Regions from separate parts of the Homo sapiens genome. Here region 1 is linked to region 2. Evidence: promoter capture Hi-C in human tissues and cell types (Jung and others, 2019). All regions are on one chromosome and are shown on one strand. The core of a region is centred on a gene start or on the middle of the fragment in contact, and the rest is flanking DNA. Distances in the headings are between cores, read along the strand shown. Region 1 holds the start of LINC01856 (long intergenic non-protein coding RNA 1856). Region 2 holds the start of SMPD4 (sphingomyelin phosphodiesterase 4).

Region 1 (5,757 bases), core at 1,219-3,718, 260 kb before region 2:
CGAGATCAGCCTGACCAACATGGTGAAACCCTGTCTCTACCAAAAATACAACATTTAGCCAGGCGTGGTGGTGCGCACCTATAATTCTAGCTACTCGGGAGGCTGAGGCAGGATAATCGCCTGAACCCAGGAGGCAGAGGTTGCAATGAGCCAAGATCATGCCACTGCACTCCAGCATGGGTGACAGAGTGAGATTCTGTCTAAAAAAAAAAATAGAATGTGGTATATTCATACTATGAAACATTATTCATCCATAAGAAGGAATGAAGTACTGATACATGCTAGAATACAGATGGCCCTTGAAAACATTATGCTCTGAGGAAAAAGCCAGATACAGCTAGGCTACATATTGTATGATTCTATTTACTGTGGTACCTCCTTACCTTCAGGAGATAGATTTCAACACCACTAGTGGATGCCTGAAACTACAATAGTATCTACTTCTATGATACTATGTTTTTTCCTATGCATGCATACCTATGAAGTTTAATTTATAAATTAGTCACCATAAGAGATTAGTAACAATAGCTAAGAATAAAATAGAAAAACTAGAACAATATGCCAGCTTCTGTGAAGGGAGAGTTACGTGAAAAACAACCACGTATGCCAGCAACACTGCTCTTGAACTTTGGGTCTTGATTAAGTGAATGAAGTGTTGCTGGAACACAAGCACTGTGATACTGTGGCCGTTAACCTGGTAACGGAGAAGGCTCCTAAGTGACTAACAGGCTGGAAGTGTAGACAGCGTGGACCATGCTGGACAAAGGGAGCGTTCATGTCCCGGGTGGGACAAAGTGGGATGGCGAGGGATTTCATCACGCCACTTAGAATGATGTGCAATTGAAAACTCATATATTGTTTATTTCTGGAGTTTAATCTTTTAGGACTGTGGTTGACTTCAGGTAACTGAAACCATGGAAGGTGAAACCACAGATAAAGCAGGACTACTGTATTTAAAATGTCCAGAGGAGGCAAGTTCATGGAGACAGAGATCAGTGGTTTCCAGGGGGGGTGGGGGGCAGCAGGAATGGGATGTGACTGCTTGATAGATACAGAGTTTCTTTCTAGAGTGAGAACAATGTTCTGGAACTGGCGGTGATGACTGCACAACTTCTGAATGTACTGGACGCCACTGCATTTGTACAATTTATTTATTTTATTATCATTATTTTTTTGAGACAAGGTCTCACTCTGTCACCCAGGCTGGAGTGCAGTGGCACAATCATGGCTCACCGCAGCCTTGGTCTCCAGGGCTCAGGTGATCCTCCTACCCCAGCCTCCTGAGTAGCTGGGATTACAGGCATGCACCACCATGCCACCATGCCAGGCTAATTTTTGTATTTTTTGTAGGGATGGGGTTTCACCATGTTGTCCAGGCTGGTCTCAAACTCCTGGGCTCAAGTGATCCTCCTACCTTGGCCTCCCAAAATGCTAGGATTATAGGCGTAAGCCACTGCCCCCAGCCTTACACAATTTAAAATGGTTAGAATGATGAATTTTACATTGAATTCCACTTCATAGGAAATTTTTTTTAAAACAACAACAAACCTCTTTAATGGACACATAAATTCCCTGGGGGTCTGATTGCAATGCAGATTTGGATTAAGGAGTCCGGGTGGGTCCTGAGACCGTGCTCCCCTTGCTTCTCACCTATGGCCACATTTTGAGACGCAAGGCCACTCGAAGGGCCCCCACCTCTGTGAATCAACCCCTGCTCCATCTGCCCCTATAAATAAGGGAATGCTAAAGCACAGATGGCGGGAGTGGGCGTGTCCCCAGGTCTGAGCCTGGAGGGGGTGGCCGGCCTCCCCCAGGCATGGAAGTGGAGGGAGAGGGGGCTGTAAACGGGTTACTCTGTCAGCAGACACAGAGGAGACCAAAAACAGTAGCTTTTATTTCACACGAAGCTGAGGAAGGAAGGCGAGAGGACAGCGCTGGCTATCAGAGGGTGCTGCCTGGCAGGTGCACCACCTCCAGCTGCTGGGCTCCAGCTCCGGGGCTCAGAAGCCATCTGAAAGAAAGCAGCGGCCTCCACTGAGCAAGCTGGGGTGCTGCAGGGTACCCGCCCCCGTGGTGCTCAGCAGTGCCTTCCCTCCCCTCCCCAGCCCCCGGGAACTCCTCCTGCGCCAGGGACACAGGGATCAAGGAGAGAACAGAGTGCAACCCCATCCCTGCCTGATCAGTGGGGGTGCCCGTCTTCCCTGCGACGGTTTTGGGGTGGAACAGGAGTGGCTCCTCAGGGGGAAATGAAAGGAACTGAGGAGCTCCAGTCGTGAGAAGGCCAATGAAGCAGGTAGCTTCTCTGCGCCGGGGTTGTGCTGAGATGTCATCTAGGGCCGGCTCTTCCAGAACCTCATTTGACGCTGGGAGGCAGCGACCGGGTGTGGGGGCGGGGTGGTAGGGGAGGGGAGCAGGGATGATGCGGTCCCGATTCCGTCCCCAGGGGGCGCTGGGACCCTCCCTGCTATCCAGGCTACACCTGTGCGGCGTAGCAGCCGTCCCCGTCTCGCCTGCACAGCGCCAGATGACAGCAGCCCAGAGGCTGTCCTCTGCCACCTGCACTGCTCACCTTTTCCGAGGAGGTCGGGGACGGGGCTGAAGGGTCCCCCGGGCAGGTTCCAGGCCAGGTCCTCTAGCAGGCCCAGCAGGCCTTTCACCTGTGTCCCCAGGTGATCCACGGTCTTCTCTACCATCTAGAGTGAGAAGGTGGGTAACGTCCAGGACAGGAGTGGTGCCACGTTCTGCTTCATTAGCCAGGTCCTAAGAAGCAGCTGGCGGTCCAGTGGGGTGCAGTGGAAAAGGACTGGGAGCTGCGGGACCTGGGTTTTCCTCACTCAGGCTCTGCGCCTACCTGCCTCAATCTCCCCAGATGACAATATCCTATGGGGCTCGCTCTCTAAGGCTCCTTCCTTTTTGGCACTCAGTCACAGGTTTGGATAAAGCGCGTGTAGATTACCTTCTCCCTTTTGGACTTTGCAGCCTGGAGCTCACATTCTTTTTGTTATTCTGCTCCCTGGTGGTGTCTCTGCCAAATGACAGGTCTGGGATTTTGAAATTTACTCAGGGTTCTTAATGGTTTTTCCCTGTGTATGCCATGGACCCCATTGGCAGTGTGGTGAAGCCTACAGACCTCTTCTCAGAATAATGCCTTAAATGCAAAAAATAAAACATATAGAATTACCAAGAGCACCAATTGCTTTAAAATATTATTCAAGTATTAGGCCAGGCGTGATGGCTCACACCTATAATCCCAACACTTTGGGAGGCCGAGGTGGACGGATCACCAGAGGTCAGGAGTTCGAGATCAGCCTGGCCAATGTGGGAAAACTGTCTCTACTAAAAATACAAAAAGAAAACGGGCACGGTGATGCATATCTGTAGTCCCAGCTACTCGGGAGGCCAAAGCAAGAGAATCGCTTGAACCGGGAGATGGAGGTTGCAGTGAGCCGAGATCATGCCGTTGCACTCCAGCCTGGGCGACAGAGAGAGACTCTGCCAAAAAAAAAAAAAAAAAAAAAAAAATTCAAATATTTAAAATTAAACTTTTTGGCCCAGCACGATGGCTCACGTCTGTAATCCCAGCACTTTAGGAGGCCGAAATGGGCAAATCCCTTGAGATCAGGAGTTTGAGACAAGCCTGGCCATATGGTGAAACCCCATCTCTACCAAAAATACAAAAAATTAGCGGGGCATGGTGGTGCATGCCTGTAGTCCCAGCTACTCAGGAGGTTGAGGCATGAGAATCACTGGAACCTGGGAGGTGGAGATGGCAGTGAGCCGAGATTGTACCATGCACTTTAGCCTGGGTGACAGAGCAAGACTCCATCAAAAACAAAATTTAAAAATTTGGATATATGTATTGGCCGGGCACAGTGGCTCATACCTGTAATCCCAGCACTTTGGGAGGCTGAGGTGTGTGGATGGCTTGAGCTTAGGAGTTCGAGACCAGCCTGGGCAATATAGCAAAACCTTGCCTCTACAAAAAAATACAAAAATTAGCCAGGCATGGTGGCACATGTGCCTGTAGTCCCAGCTACTTGGGAGGCTGAGGTGGAAGGATTGCTTGAGCCTGGGAGGTGGAAGTTGCAGTGAACCGAGACTGCACCACTGCACTCCAGCCTTGTCGGCAGACAGAGACCCTGCCTCAAAAAAAAAAAAATGTATTTATTAACTCACTAACTCACATGATCTAACATCAGGCCTAACAACAACTGAAATTTTGACATAATGAATGATATAAATGTTCTTCTATTCATAACTAGAAGAAGATGAAATTATCTGGATTTCTATTGGTGACAAAGTTATAGTACTATTAACACCACGGCTTGCTGTCTGTAATTTATGATGAATGGGAATGCTCAATTTCAGTTAAAGGCTTGTGACAATAAAGATGTAAACTTTTCCCCACACAAGTTAGGAATCGTGGCTATATAACAAAACAGTGACTGGATTTCCACCTTCCCATCCAGTAATGATGCTGAAATGTCCTGGTGGGGGTAAGTAAGGCCTTAGGGGAGGCAGGGTCCATTGGGGGCTCGCCAGCCTGGCAGCCTAGATGGGAGGGTGATGTTGGACAAGGTGGCCCCAGGGCAGGATTGGCCTGATGTCCTGACATTCCAAAGCAAGCTTGCATCTGCCCATAAAAACATCATCCTAGAAGGTGGTCCTGAAACCACATGTCCTTCCAAAGCACCCTGTTACCTCCTCTATGACATCTAGATGGCATTGCATAGCCATGTGTCTGTCACATGCTGTGCTCTGAGCTGAGTCTCCTCAGGGAGCGATGAAGGGTTCTGCAGCTGTGGGAAAACAAGTCTTGTCACTGTGGGACCCTTAGTTTTCCACAATGCCAGAGACTTCTGTAAATACTGGGCTCAAGTGAGGTCAGTCCTCAAAGCAAACTCAAGAGCAAGAAGAGGATGGCCCAGGTGGGGGTCAGTGTGCGACTGTCAGTTATCTCAATCCCACCAATCTCTACAGTGGCAGTCACCTACAGACCCAGATGGACTTCCTCAAGGAGGTGAAGCCCAGGGAGGAAGGGAAGGCGGGCTTCAGCCAGGAAGAATGGCACCTGCAATGATGGAGAGGCCTGAAAGAGCATGGCTCACTGTGCAAACCCTGCAGGGAGCCTGCAGTGGCTGGAGATACAGGGTGGGTGGGAGAGAGACTGGAGAGGGAAGTCCTGGAAATGAAGCCAAGGGGACAGAGCTTTAACCAAGAGGCTTTCATAAACCAGTTCTGATGTTTGTTTTTGTTGTTGTTGTTTTGTTTTGTTTTGTTTTTGATGGAGTCTAGCTCTGTTGCCCAGGCTGGAGTGTGATGGTGCAATCTCAGCTCACTCCAACCTCTGCCTCCCCGGTTCAAGCGATTCTCCTGCCTCAGCCTCCCGAGTAGCTGTAGGAATAGTGAGAAAGAAAATGAGAGGAGGTATTTCAGTAGCAGCATTGACACTGGGAACCCATTAGTAACAGCTGTCATGTGATGAGTGCTTACCATGCACCATGTAGGGTGATCACTTAACCTCTCCAACAGCCTGTTCTTATGCCCAATCTACATGTAGGAAAACTGATGCACAGAAGGGTGAAAGGATGTGTCCAGAGTCACTACTCATAAGCAGAGGATCTGCCATTCAACCCGCTCAACTCCTGATTGAGCACTGTTCTCCTTGAGTTAGCTCTTCCAGGCACCATCAACCTTCACAACAGAAGTCTGAGATCCCTGATTCCAAGCTCGGATTTCAGAGTTGGTAACCCTGAG
Region 2 (5,557 bases), core at 1,897-4,396:
AAGAGCAAGCTCTGCCAAGGGAGCCTTTGAATAAGCCATGAGAAAACTAGGATCAAAGGCCGGGCACCATGGCTCACACCTGTAATCCCAGCACTTTGGGAGGCCGCGGTGGGCAGATCACTTGAGGCCAGGAGTTTGAGACCAGTCTGGCCAACGTGGCAAAACCCCATCTCTACTAAAAATATAAAAATTAGCTGGGTGTGGTGGCGGGCACCTGTAGTCCCAGCAACTCGGGAGGCTGAGGCATGAGAAATGCTTGAGCCCAGGAGGCGGAGGTTGCAGTGAGCCAAGATCACACCATTGCACTCTAGCCGGGGTGATAGAGGGAAACTCTCAAAAAATGGAAAAAAAAAAAGAAAAAAAAAGAAAGAAAACTAAGATCAGCTTTCCAGAATCCTACCTCTCAGCTCACCCAGGTCAGAAATGAAAAATGCTCAGACCTAGACTTCACAGACAGGAAGTCTGCCAAGTCCCACTGGTGGGCTAGTTACAGTTTTCATGGCCCAGCTCTGCCCACTGCACAAGTAAAGGCACTGGGGTGACACCTGGCAGTCTGTGGAGGAAGAGAGGCTGGGTGTAAAGAGGCCATGTAGGCAGCTGTAGAGTGAGAGGAGACAGGAATCTCTGCCTCTCGGCAATAGGAACATCTCCCAAGTTTTTTCAATTCTTTTTTTTTTTTTTTTTTTGAGACAGAGTCTCGCTCTGTTGCCCAGGCTAGAGTCCTGTGGCGCTATCTTGGCTCACTGCAAGCTCCGCTTGGGTTCACGCCATTCTCCTGCCTCAGCCTCCCGAGTAGCTGGGACCACAGGCACTGGCCACCACACCCGGCTAATTTTTTTGTATTTTTAGTAGAGACGGGGTTTCACTGTATTAGCCAGGATGGTCTCGATCTCCTGACCTCGTGATCCGCCTGCCTCGGCCTCCCAAAGTGATGGGCTTACAGGCATGACCCACCGCGCCCAGCCTCTTTTTTCTTTTTTTGACTGAGTCTCACTCCATCATCTCACTGCAACCTCCACCTCCAAAGTTCAAACGGTTCTCGTGCCTCAGCCTCCCGAGTAGCTGGGATTACAGGGGCCTGCCACCACAGGCTGCCTAATTTTTCTATTTTTAGTAGAGGCGGGTTTCCCTATGCTGGCCAGGCTGGTCTCAAATTCCTGGCCTCAAGTGATCCGCTGCCTCAGCCTCCCAAAGTGCCGACTTTTTCAATTCTTTTTTGAGATGGAGTCTCGCTCCGTTGCCAAGCTGGAGTCCAATGGCATGATCTCGGCTCACTGCAACTTCCGACTCCCTGGTTCAAGCAATTCTCCTGCCTCAGCCTCCCGAGTAGCTGGAATTACAGGCACATGCCACCACATCCAGTTAATTTTTGTATTTTTAGTAGAGATGGGGTTTCACTATGTTGGCCAGACTGGTCTCAAACTCCTGACCTCGTGATCAGCCCTCCTCGGCCTCCCAAAGTGCAGAGATTACAGACGTGAGTCACCATGCCCGGCCGCTTTTTCTTTTTTCTCCTTTTTTTTTTTTTGAGATGGTCTCGCTCTGTCGCCCAGAGTGGAGTGCAGTGGCGCGATCTGGGCTCACTGCAAGCTCCGCCTCCCGGGTTCACGCCATTCTCCTGCCTCAGCCTCCCTAGTAGCTGGGATTACAGGCGCCCGCCACCACGCCCGGCTAATTGTTTTTTGTATTTTTAGTAGACAGGGTTTCACGTGTTAGCCAGGATGGTCTCGATCTCCTGACCTCGTGATCCGCCCGCCTCAGCCTCCCAAAGTGCTAGGATTACAAGCGTGAGCCACTGCGCCCGGCCAGCTTTCTCTTTTTCTTTTTTCAGACGGAGTCTCGCTCTGGGCTCTGTCGCACAGGCTGGAGTGCAGTGGCGCGATCTCAGCTCACTGCAACCTCCGCCTCGCGGGTGCAAGCAATTCTCTTACTCAGCCTCCCAAGTGGCTGGGATTACAGGCGCCCGCTACCACGCCCGGCTAATTTTTGTATTTTTTACTAGAGACGAGGTTTCACCATCTTGGCCAGGCTGGTCTTGAACTCCTGACCTCGTGATCCACCCGCCTGGGCCTCCCAAAGTGCTGGGATTACAGGCGTGAGTCACCGCTCCCGGCCTCAATTCTTAACCTAGCTATCAACTGCAGTGTTAAAGAAAAACGCCTCAGTCCTAAGGCACTTGGTCAAGAAAACGCTGCACTACTACAAAATGATCAAAGCAGCATTAAACTGTGGACTGTTCGGTAAGTGCGGAGCTCTAGAGACGATGAAGGGGAGAGCATCTCTGCTCAGAAGAAGCTTTCATGGGCAGCGACTGAAAGAATGAGGCCCAGAGGAATTTCTAGGAAATTTCCAAGAAAGGAAATTCAAACCCGAGAATTCCCAAGAGGTGTCTCCCACACCCCTGTTATCTGACTCTGCCATGGCCACCCTCCCCCGTCACAGGTCTCTGCGTGCCATGCACCTAGAGTCCACTTCATGGCGACTCTCCAACACCTATTTTCTCCAGGAGCTGCTTCGGACCCCGTTTGTTTTTTGTTTTGTTTTGTTTTTCTGACAGCGACAGCCCTTGGGCAACGCTAATCATTCCAAGCAAATTCTGTCATGCCAAGACCTCCCTTAACAGCACGCGCCCACTTGTTCCCAACTCTCCTGCCAATTGGGCTTCGGGAGCCTCCAAAACCAAGGCTCGGAGATGTGGAGCACACAGGGGAAGGGTCGAGCTGGGACCCACACCCGGCTCTTACACCCACACCGCCTGTTGAGCCCAAGGCTCAACTTCAACACAAAGCTCTCCTTCCCTCAATTCCTTCAACGAAGGTTAACCTTCAGCGAACACCTACCGGACCGGGACAGAGTGTACGAGCCGCGCGGGAAGGTGGCACAAAGGCATGGCCCAGAGGGGTGGCAGAAGACTCAACCGGGGCCCTCCACTCCCCAGCCTGCCCTGCCTGGGCAGAGCCGGCTGGCCGGCCCGAGTCCTGGGGCTCGCGGAGGAACGGAGATGGCCTCCGCAGGGGCTCGGGGAAGCCCCCAGGGCGCCGGACCGTCTCAGGCGCGCATCCCGCGCCACTCACCTGTGGGATCCATAGCGTCGCTCGCCTCAGAGATGGAAGCCGCCATTCCGCCACGGCGCCGAAAGTCGTCATCAAGCTGCGCGCAGAGCCACGCCCCGCGGCCGGGCGGGAAAAGCGCTTCCACCTCTTTGGGCCGTTACCTCAAAAGGCGCGTGCGCAAAGCGAAGGCCGGCCGGGCGGGGAAGAGAAATGGCGAGGCAGGAGTGCGGGGGAGGGAGTGGTCCTTAGCTGAATGCGCCTGCGTTGTGGCGGCCTCCGGCGCCCCAAGGTACTTTCTCCCCAGCAAGGAATCCGCGTGCGCGTAAGCAGTATTGTTGATTAGTGCCCCCCCCTTCCCCCCGCCCGCCCCGAAAAGCGACCCCTAGTGGTGCACCGGTGCGGACCAGAAAATTGCACGCTTTCTTGAAAGAGGCATTTACCGAGCGCCCAATGTATGCCTGGCACTGGGCTGGGTGCTGCCACCTAAGCGAGCACGACCAATGCAGTCTATCAGGGAGGCCCAGATCGCCAAGCAGCGGACCCCTGCGGTCCGCCATGCCACTCCCGGCTCCTAGAGCGCCGCTCAGCACACCGTGAGCGCCCAATAACTGTTGGGCTTCAATGACGCCGCGGAGGCGGCCCCGTCCCCGCGCTCCCGCCCCTCCCGCCAGGGCAGCCCGGGAGGCCAGACGTTGACGCTGCAGGGAGAGGGTGGTGGGCGCAGCCGCTAGGGGGCGCGGCGGGGCGGAGCGCACCTTTCCGCGGGCCGCGGGGATGGCGGCGCAGGGCGTAGGGCCTGGGCCGGGGTCGGCGGCGCCCCCGGGGCTGGAGGCGGCCCGGCAGAAGCTGGCGCTGCGGCGGAAGAAGGTGCTGAGCACCGAGGAGATGGAGCTGTACGAGCTGGCGCAGGCGGCGGGCGGCGCTATCGACCCCGACGTGTTCAAGTGAGCGGGGCGGGTGGGGGCCGCATGCTAGCCAGACACCCCCCGACCTCTGCTTTCCGGGTACGCCCGGCCCGCTGGTCGGGAGGAGCCCCCGCCCCCGTCCTTGTCGGGTCTTCAGGGAGGTGGCCGCGCCGGGCGGAGAGGGCTCACCGGCCCCGCGTCTGTCCCCGCCAGGATCCTGGTGGACCTGCTGAAGCTGAACGTGGCCCCCCTCGCCGTCTTCCAGATGCTCAAGTCCATGTGTGCCGGGCAGAGGCTAGCGAGCGAGCCCCAGGACCCTGCGGCCGTGTCTCTGCCCACGTCGAGCGTGCCCGAGACCCGAGGTCAGAGCTGGGCCCGCTGTCCCTGCCCCAGTGGCGGGGGTGGCGGGCGGGGAGGGGGCAGGCGCGGCACAGCGGCGGCGTGGCCCTGAGTGGCCAGGCCTGTCTGTCGGTCTAGGCCCAGCACCTGCAGGGCCCATCCGTGGGCTCTGCTCCTGGGCTTCGCTGCCAGCCTTAGGAGGCACGTCCAGGTCAGGTGGACGCAGAGTGCGTACCCCAGGGTGGTCCAGGCTGGGTAGGGCTCCTCCGCTTAGCTCCCCTCCACCTCTTCACTCAGGCCTTCATCCTACAACGTCGGGAATCAAGACAGTTTGGGGCTGGGCGCCCTGGCTCACGCCTATAATCTTTGGGACCCCAGGGCGGGAGGATCGTTTGAGGCCATGAGTTTTAGACCACTCTGGGTGACAGGGTGAGATCCTGTCTCTAAATGTTTTTCAAAAGACAGTCTCGATCTCTGTCCTGTGGTATACAGCATCCAGGGAAGTGCCCAGGGACCAGGGCAGGCAGAGGTCTTCCTGCCTTTACCCCACCTGGGCCCAGTTCCTGCGCAGGGGCTTGGCCAGTCCTGGTCAGCTTTCCCTCTGATGACTGCAGGAAGAGAGTCAGACGCGGAACTCCCAGGGTGCAGAGGCCTGCGGGGTCTGAAGGGCCTCCTCCCTCTCCAGTGTGGTGACTGGGCTGAGGAGATTCTGGGACTGAGAGTGTCATGGTGGAGCCTCTGTCCCTGCTCATCCTCTCCGCATGTTGCTTCTGCTCCCGATGGCTCTCTCTGAAATGCAGCACAACCTCCTAGGCCAATGGAAGAAGGCCCAGAGCTGGCTCCCTGCCTGGAAGCACGAGGAGACCCGCACAGGCATCCTGAGAAGGCGTGGAGAGCAGGCTGCCTTCATGGGGGGAGTGCCAGGGCCTGGGCACCCACACCCGCTGACCCAAGAGGGCCCGGGCACCTGCGTGCTGGCCTCTTCACTGACCTTCGCTCTGTCTGCTCTCTTTGTGTCTCTCTCTGACCTCCAGAGGCCTCCTTTCTCTCTGCCAGGAACAGTAGCCCCCCTGCAAGGCCCTCCTTTTCCTCCAGCCCGCAGCCTGCGGCCTCTCCGGTTCTGCTCCACAGCCCGGCTGCCACACACTCGCCTCTCTCTCCAGGCCCCCCGGGTTCCCTCCGCCTCTCTTGCTGCCTGTTCTCTCCTTTTGCAGGTTGCGTTTATTGGCTTATCTCTGGGGGTTGGTGCTCTCCCTTGTT

What was found. Contacts are between HindIII fragments. The study calls those that stand out against the background at their distance.
Region 1: a contact is called between a fragment that was not itself captured here and the fragment with the promoter of SMPD4 in region 2, in 1 of the 25 tissues and cell types used here (bladder).

The regions. Positions count from the first base shown.
Region 1 is chr2:129,920,989-129,926,745 of GRCh38, forward strand. It overlaps LINC01856 (long intergenic non-protein coding RNA 1856), which reads left to right and starts at 2,189. Exons shown (of 4, transcript NR_110285.1): 1 at 2,189-2,293. It also overlaps the pseudogene PLAC9P1. RefSeq lists enhancers at 1,496-2,311, 2,312-3,125. The HindIII fragment of the contact is 5,757 bases long and covers 1-5,347 here.
Region 2 is chr2:130,178,456-130,184,012 of GRCh38, forward strand. SMPD4 (sphingomyelin phosphodiesterase 4) reads right to left here and starts at 3,147. Exons shown (of 20, transcript NM_017951.5): 1 at 3,075-3,147. It overlaps MZT2B (mitotic spindle organizing protein 2B), which reads left to right and starts at 3,807. Exons shown (of 3, transcript NM_025029.5): 1 at 3,807-3,997; 2 at 4,172-4,320. The coding sequence starts at 3,828. RefSeq lists enhancers at 2,059-2,855, 4,756-5,492, 5,493-5,557 and silencers at 2,903-3,042, 3,553-4,062. The HindIII fragment of the contact is 11,545 bases long and covers 1-5,557 here.